3 separate regions of the Homo sapiens genome follow, and all the other regions are linked to region 1. The links are contacts of gene promoters, found by promoter capture Hi-C in blood cells and fetal thymus (Javierre and others, 2016). All regions are on one chromosome and are shown on one strand. Each heading gives the region's core, a stretch centred on a gene start or on the middle of the fragment in contact. The rest is flanking DNA. Distances are from core to core; before and after follow the strand shown.

The links. The method cuts DNA at HindIII sites, captures the fragments that hold promoters and counts their contacts. A CHiCAGO score of 5 or more calls a contact.
Region 2: a contact is called between a fragment that was not itself captured here and the fragment with the promoter of STX4 in region 1, in 1 of 17 cell types (monocytes). The highest score is 8.2, in monocytes.
Region 3: a fragment that was not itself captured here is called in contact with the fragment with the promoter of STX4 in region 1 in 1 of 17 cell types (M0 macrophages); the score reaches 5.1 in M0 macrophages.

Annotation. Positions count from the first base shown.
Region 1 is chr16:31,032,192-31,034,978 of GRCh38, reverse strand. STX4 (syntaxin 4) reads right to left here and starts at 1,421. Exons shown (of 11, transcript NM_004604.5): 1 at 1,144-1,421; 2 at 865-966; 3 at 654-753; 4 at 443-517; 5 at 1-9. The coding sequence starts at 1,173. RefSeq lists enhancers at 563-1,073, 1,586-2,097. The HindIII fragment of the contact is 4,602 bases long and covers 1-2,787 here.
Region 2 is chr16:31,296,843-31,299,542 of GRCh38, reverse strand. ITGAM (integrin subunit alpha M) reads right to left here. Exons shown (of 30, transcript NM_000632.4): 13 at 1,889-2,029; 14 at 1,589-1,798. Among named protein-coding and RNA genes, the nearest start is that of ITGAM, 38 kb to the right of the region's middle. The HindIII fragment of the contact is 4,791 bases long and covers 1-2,700 here.
Region 3 is chr16:31,315,381-31,318,353 of GRCh38, reverse strand. All of the region lies in intron 14 of ITGAM (integrin subunit alpha M), which reads right to left. Among named protein-coding and RNA genes, the nearest start is that of ITGAX, 38 kb to the left of the region's middle. The HindIII fragment of the contact is 2,960 bases long and covers 23-2,973 here.

The DNA.
Region 1 (2,787 bases), core at 172-2,671:
GCTCTATGGCTGTGGGAAGACACAGGGGTATTGGGGGTACTTGTCTCCATAGGATTTTTAGGGAAATATAATTTATCATAAAATGACTAAGGCTGAGCCTCTAAGAGGAGAAAGTAAGTTTATTTTTCTTTGCATTACATCACTGAGTTCCCATAGGTATGCAGAGGCCACCTAACAAAACTCCATCTCCCTGCCCAAAGAATGCCCAGTGGGCAGCGATAACTGTGTAAGTAAATGGTTTCATTGTAAATAAAAGAACCTGAGAGGCGGACTTGTGCTGTGGAGAGTACAATGGCCTGGAGGCCAGGAGACAGATGCTAGACCCAGGCCTGCTGTGTGACCTGGATATATCACTGGCTTCTCTGGGCCACACACTCCCCAGATATACCAACAACAGGGCAGGATCAGAGGGAAGGATCTGTCTGAGGTCCCAGGAGCTCACCCTTCAGCTGCAGGCGGATCTCCCTCCCCAGCTGTTTGATCTCATCGCGCAGGTTCTGCAGCTCCTGCTTCATGCCTGAATAAGAGAAGGCCAAGACTCCCAAACAGCAGCCCCCACCTCAACAAACCACTCTGGCCACCACCTGCGTGGAACTACAACCCCCACAATCCCTGGGGCGGAGCATGCGCCCTGCAGCCGGGGTTTCACTCACTCTCCTCGGGAAGGGGCGTGGCCAGGATGGTGACCTGCTGTTTCTCCAACTCCTGGACTTTATTCCCCAGTTTGACAATAGTCTGCCGAATTGTCCGGACCTGGGGAGGGTGACCGAGAGGGCTGAAAGAGATATGGGGTACTCCAGACCACGCTACTCCTCGGGTCCTCCTACACCCTCGCGAATCCAGGCGGAGACCCCAGCCCCTTACCTTGTGGAAGAACTCCTCGTCCGGGCTCCCCAGCCGTGCCGTGCCCGGGTGCACCACCAGCGCGACCCGCTCCTTGTCCTCTTCGTCCGAGCTGTCATCCCCCTGCCAGGCCCGGAGTCATTGGCACCACCGTTTCGCTGCGGCTCTTACCCCGCAGGACCCACAGGCTTCCGGGACTTTCCTTCCTGGCCATCAGCCACCCCTCCCTATCCCGAAGACCAGAAGTCCTGCGTTCCAGTTCGTCCGCCCGTCCCCATCCCCGCTGCCCTGGCGTCTCACCTGTCTCAGCTCGTGGGTCCTGTCCCGCATGGCGGCCTGAGCTCTCCCTCCCCGGCGCCAGAGCCGGGAGGCCCTCAAATTTGGAATTCCCGTACCCCGCTCACACTCTGACACTCCCCTCCCTCCCCCTGCGGACCCCAACACCCCCACGAGCCGCCAGAGGCTCCGTCCCTTGCACCGCCCACAGTCAATGGGAAGGCGCCGACCCCGGGGACCCCCCAAGGTTCCACAGGTTGGAATTCCCTTTTCTTCCCCGCTCCAGCTCCCGCAGCCTCAGCCCCGCCCCTCCGTGATAAATTCGGGGCATGCGCACATGGTCGCGTCTCTTCCTTGCCCGAGGCTGGGAAGGTGGAGTCGGAAGTTGTTGCGCCCCGAGCGGAAGCGGAGATGCCTGGACGCGAGAACTTGCTACCGTCACCGGAACCGTTGCATCTTCCAACGGAAATCTGGTTGCCAAAAGGGGTAGGAATACGTCATTTGTACGTAATCCGAGACACCCGCATCTCACATCACCCCATGGTGCCCCCACCGCGTCACGTGACCAGCCCGGTCCCAAACTCGTGGACCGCAGAATGTGACCCTGTGACTGTCACGTGTCCCGGCTCTGTCACCGCCGTCTCTGGGACGCCGTTCTCATCACGACGTCCCCGGCACCCCAACGACCGAGCGACGCCCACACGGCCCCCGCGAGGTGGGGAGGGGCGCGCCGACCACCCCCAGAGGCCTTTCGAGGCAGTGGGTGGTAGGACCCTTGCTGACCTCGCCTTTATTGCTTTCGGGTCCAGGGCGTGGGCGGACTGACGACTTAGCATTTGGGGCTGTCAGCATCATGGGACCTTGAAAATCGGGAAATAATAGGATCCGAGTCGTCAGCGTCAGAAAATTGCAGGGTTGTGTGGGCAGGGAATCTGGGGGTGGGAAGTGACCTCAGCCAAGGCAGAAATCTCTTCTTCCGCATCCTTCTGGCGCAGCCTCTGACAGGTGGGCGGCCAGCCGGCGCCCTCCTTGAACACTGCAGCCCGGCTGCACTCACCACCTTGTGAGCCGTCAGACCATGTCAGGGCAGCTCAGGCTAAGAAAAGTGTTTGTATTGATCACGCTGCCTCCCTGCCACTCACACCCCCCAGCCCCTGCCTTGCATCTGAGGCCAGGTAATGACTTTGTTCTTAACTGAATCTGGGGAGTTCCTAGCCCAGTACCAAGAACATTACGGGCCCTCTATAAATACTTGTGGACAGAATTTCAGGCTTTCATGTATCTGAGGATAAAGCCCCTGGTTCCTTGGTCTTCTTTAGGCTTCAGGCTTTCTGACTGTGACACTTCTCTAATCCTGGCTATCTAGATATTCACTCATTTTTTATTTTTAAAAATTTTTACGAGATGCGGTCTCACTATGTTGTCCAAGCTGGTCTCTAACTCCTGGGCTTAAGCAATCCTTCTGCCTCAGCTTCCCAAAGTGCTGGGATTACAGGCATGCACCACCATGCACAGCAACATTCAGTCATTTAATGGATATTTTTTGGGCACATAGTATGGGCCAAACACTGTTCTAGGGCTGGAGATACATCAAGGACTAATAGACAAAAATTCCTGCACTCGTGGAACTTATATTCTCTAGAAGGAGTCCCCAAGGTCACTCAGCAA
Region 2 (2,700 bases), core at 87-2,586, 260 kb before region 1:
GAGTCCGGGAGCTCAAGACCAGCCTGGACAACATGGCAAAACCCAGTCTCTACAAAAAATACAAAAATTAGCCAGGCATGGTGGTGCATGCTTGTAATCCCAGCTACTCAGGAGGCTGAGAGAGGAGAATCGCTTGAACCCAGGAGGTAAGGTTGCAGTGAGCCGAGATTGTGCCACTGCACTCCAGCCTGGGCGACAGACTGAAACTTTTGTCTCAAAAACTAAAAAAAAATAAAACAGCCAAACTCATTGAAGCAAAGAATATAATGGTGGCTGCCAGAGGCTAGAGAACAATGAGGAGTTGCTAATCAATGGGTATACATTTTCAATATGCAAGATGAAGTTCAAGAGGTCTGCTGTACAACATTGCACCAATAGATGACAGTATTACATTGTACATTTTAAAATCTGTTAAGAGGATAGGTCTCATGTTAAGTGCCCTTACCACAATAAAAAAATTTTTAAACATAAAGAAAGAAAAATGTAAGGCTAGCAAAAACCCAGAGACCAGAGGCCAGAAAACTAGATGGTCTCAGGTGGCTATGGTGGGAAAGAATATGAACAGGGAAGATGGAACCAGACTGTAAGGGTCCCTCCAGACAGTGGGCTCCACCTGGCAGGAGACAGAAAGCCAACTTACAGAGCAAAACAGTTGTCAGGTCCAGAATATAGGGTGACAAGTCATCAGGATGGGCTCCATGCTTTGCAAGACCCAATGCAAAAAAACGTAGGACCCCTTGTTGAAAAATTACTAAGAATTGAAGATGGCAATAGCAGAGCATTAAGCCAAGCACAGGGCGATTCTGAGAGAGGGGCACGTGTGACTGCACAATTCCACATCTGTGAAGTGTGCAATCCCGTAAGGTGGCCAACCGCATAGGTTTCCCAGGATGTGGGATTTCAGTACTAAATCTGGGACAGAGTTAAGCAAACTAGAGCTCTTGGTCACCTTACCAGGACCGAGATTCAGAAGAAAGGAATGCCTGCATCCCAATACTGCTAGCTTGCCATTTGCCATCGCTGGGCCTTGATCTACTCATCTGTAAAGTGGGGGTGATGAGGCTATCATGCACCTCCTATTGCTGTAGAAATAATCAATCTGGAACTAAGAGTCTTTGAGATTTCTGTGAATGTGTGTGTGTGTGTGCACGTGCACGCATGCATGTGCAAGTCTGACTCTGTCACTCTGGCTGCTGGAGTACAGTGGTGTGACCAGGACTCACTGCAGCCTCAACCTCCCAGGCTCAAGTAATCCTCCGGCCTCAGCCTCCAGAGTAGCTGGGACCATGGGTGTATGCCACCACACCTGGCTAATTTTTTTTTTTTTTTTTTTTTTTTGGAGAGATGGGTTCTCACCATGTTGCCCTGACTGGTCTTGAGCTCCTGGGCTTAAACAATCCTCCCAACTCAGCCTTCCAAAGTGCTGGGATTACAGGCGTCAGCCACCAGGCCCAGCCACATGTTATTATTTTTGAAGGTTCTGAAAGGAGTACTGTGAGAACTTATCTGGCAGCTGTGGGCACACTGAATTAGGAGAAAGATCAACAAAGAGGCTACTGTCATGACAAGGACAGTGACCAGGTCTCACCTGGCTATGGGAGGGGCTGATGCCAGATCCTGAGGTTCCGTGAAACAGGTAAACAGCACCCCGGTTGTCCTCCTCTCCTGGGGCCCCAATGGCCACGTCCGTCAGCTTGTCCCCATTTACGTCCCCCAGCACTGTTAGGGCTGCCCCAAAGCGGCCCCAGGGTTGGCCCTGCTCCCCGTAGAGAACAGCATCACACTGCCACCGAGCCCTCTGCTAAACACAAACAGTATCAGGCCCCAACCCAGGCGACCCCTCCACCCACACCGGGCCCCACCCAGCCCAGGTCCCATTGCCACTCACCCCCCTGGGCAAGGGGCACACGGACACCTGGCCCCCTCGGGTCTGCTCGTAGTAATGGGGGGCCCCGATGAGGACCAGGTCGGTGCTGCCGTTGCTGTCCACGTCCACGGAGCAGAGGGAGGCCCCGAAGTAGGCGCCGATCTGAAAGAGACAGGACCGTAATCACACACCTCTTCCCACCTAAAGCAGATGTGGAGGTTTTCTCTCTCTGAAGAAAAGTTATGCCTGCTGGGGGAATCCCTCTGGAGCAGATGTGATCTTCTATATGGTTCATGATAAATTATCACTTGAATGTGCTGCCAGCTAAAGGAACCTATATAATAAGCCTGGCAGAATGGTTTCTGCCTGTAATCCCAGCTCCTCGGGGGGCTGAAGTGGGAGGATCCCTTGAGCCAAGGAGTTTAAGGCTGCAGTGAGCTTTGTCACCACTGCACTCCAGCTTGGGCAACAGAGCAAGATCCCAATCTCTAAGTGTATATATATATTTTTTAATAATTTAAAAGATAAAAAATAAGCCTATAGTAGAGTCAATGGGCAGTGAGTGAGGATTTACTCCAGGTGGTATTCCTGGGAGATTATTAAGGCAGCAAAGAAGAATTTGGGTTGGAAAATACATAGAAAATTCTAGAAGAGAAGACAGAATACCACCCTTTCAATATATTGGGAATCTTTAGGGAGGTAAAAAGTCAAAGTTGGCACTCTGACTAATAAGGCTAATAACTGGCTTAGATTAAAAATAACTATTTGTTATTTGAATATTTGTTGTGATATTAAGAAATATCTTCAAGGTCAATATGTAGAATTCATCCATA
Region 3 (2,973 bases), core at 253-2,752, 280 kb before region 1:
AAAAAAAAAGAACTGACAAGCTTTTAGGTAGACCAAGGAAAAAGGGAGAAAAAACAGAAACAACAGATAAGTAAAATTATAAATGAAAGAACATACAACTGATGCCATAGCAATAAAAAGGATCATTAAGAGACTACTATGAACAATTATATGTTAACAAACTTGATAACCTTGAAGGAATGGATAAATTCCTAGAAATATACAACCTACCAAGCCTGAATCATAAGGCAATAGAAAGTTTAAACAGATCTATAATGAGTAAGGAAATTGAATCAGTAATCAAAGACCTCCTAACAAAGAAAAGCCCAGGACCTGGTGGCTTCTCAGGCAAATTCTACCAACCAAACATTTAAATAAGAATTAATATGAATTCTTCTCAAACTCATCCAAAAAACTGAAGAGGAGGGAATACTTCCAAACTTATTGTATGAGGCAAGCACTATCCTGACACTAAATCCCAACAAACACACCATGAGAAAAGATCACTACATGCCAATTTCCCTATTGAACATAGATCCAAAATCCTAAATAAAATACTAGCAAACTGAATTCAATAGCACAAAAGGGTCATACGCCATGACCATGTGGGCTTTATTCCTGGCATGCAAGGATGGCTCAACATATGCAAATCAATAAATGTGATGCACCACATTAACAGAATAAGGAATAAAAATAACATGATCTTATCAATAAGAAAAGAAAGCATTTAATAAAACTAAACATCTGTCTTAGCTTATTTGGTATAACAAATAACATAGACTGGATGGGTTATAAGCAATAGAAATTTATTTCTCATAGTTCTGAAGACTTGTGACATCCAAAATCAAGGTGCAAGCAGATTCAATATCTGGTGAGAGCCTATTTTCTGGTTCATAGGCAACCATCATTTTGCTTTTGTCTAAGGGCACTAATCCTATTAATGATGGCCACACTCTCATGACCTAAACACCTTCCAAAGGTCCCATCTACAAATACCATCACACAAGGAATTAGGCTTCAACATATGAATCTGGGGAGGACACAAACATTCAGGCCACAGGAATAGCCACTCATGATTAAAAACCCTCAACAAACTAGAAATACAGGGAAATTACATCAACATGATAAAGAACATTAAAAAAAGTGTCTAGTTAACATCATACCCAGTGGTGAAAATTTGATTTTACCACTAAAATTAGGAACAAGGCAAGGATGCCCACACTCACCACTTCTATTTCAACACAGTACTGAAAGTCCTAGCCAGAGCAATTGGGCAAGAAAAAGATAAGAAATGCATTCAAGTTAGAAATAAAGAAAAAAAAATTGTCCCTGTTTGCAATTGACATGATCTTATATATAAGAAACTTGTTATAAATACTCTACGAAAAAGTTATCAAATTTAATAAACAAATTTAGTAAAGTCATGGAATACAAAATGAACATACAAAAATTATTTGTTTCTATACACTAACAACAAACTATCTGAAAAAGAAATTAATCCTATTTACAATGGCATCAAAAAATAAAATGCTTACAAGTTAATTTAACCAAGAAGGTGAAAAATATGCACACTAAAACTATAAAACATTGACGAAAGAAAGTTAAGACAAAAATCAATGGAAAGATATCCCATATTATGGATTGAAAGAATATTTTTAAAGGTCCATACTATTCAAAGTGATCGATAGAGTCAATGTAATTCCTACCAAAATCCCAATGGCATTTCTTACAGAAATAGAAAAAACAATACTAAAATTAATATGAAGTCACAAAAGACCTCAAATATCCAAGACAATCTTGAGCATAAACAACAAAGGTAGAGGTATCACACTACCTGACATCAAAATACACCACAAAGGTATACTCAGCAAAACAGCATGACACTGACATAAAAACAGAGACATTGACCAATGGAACAGAATACAGAGCTCAGAAATGAACCCATGCATTTACAATCAACTAATTTTCTTTTCTTTTTTTTTTTTTTCCAGACGGAGTCTTGCTCTGTTACCCAGGCTGGAGTGCAGTGGCATGATGTAGGCTCACTGCAACCTCTTCCTCCCAGGTTCCCCCATTCTCCTGCCTCAGCCTCCCGAGTAGCTGGAACTACAGGTGCCCACCACCATGCCTGGCTAATTTTTTTTTTTTTTTTTTTTTTTTTTTTTTTTTTTTTTGAGACGGAGTCTCGCTCTGTCGCCCAGGCCGGACTGCGGACTGCAGTGGCGCAATCTCGACTCACTGCAAGCTCTGCTTCCCGGGTTCACGCCATTCTCCTGCCTCAGCCTCCCGAGTAGCTGGGACTACAGGCGCCCGCCACCGCGCCCGGCTAATTTTTTGTATTTTTAGTAGAGACGGGGTTTCACCTTGTTAGCCATGACGGTCTCGATTTCCTGACCTCATGATCCACCCGCCTCAGCCTTCCAAAGTGCTGAGATTACAGGCATGAGCCACCGCGCCCGGCCAACAATCAACTAATTTTCAACAAAGGTGCCAAGGGCATACAATGGGGAAAGGACAGTCTTTTTAACAAATGGTGTTAAGAACACTGGATATCCACAGGCAAAAGAATGAAACTGAGCCTTTATCTCAAACCAAATACAAAAATCAAAAGTGCTGGGCCGGGTGCAGTGGCTCACGCCTGTAATCCCAGCACTTTAGGAGACTGAGGCGGGTGGATTACCTTAGATCAGGAGTTCAAGACCAGCCTGGCCAACATGGTGAAACCCCGTCTCTATTAAATATACAAAAAAGTAGCCAGGCATGGTGGCGGAGGCCTGTAATCCCAGCTACTTGGGAGGCTGAGGCAGGAGAATCGCTGGGACCCGGGAGGTGGAGGTTGCAGTGAGCTGAGATCGTGCCACTGCACTCCAGCCTGGGCAATAGAGAGAGACTCCATCTAAAATAAAATTAAATTAAAAAATAAAAAAATTAAAAAGTGAGTTAAAGGCTTAAATGTAAGATCTAACACTATAAACTATTAGAAGGAAACGTAGA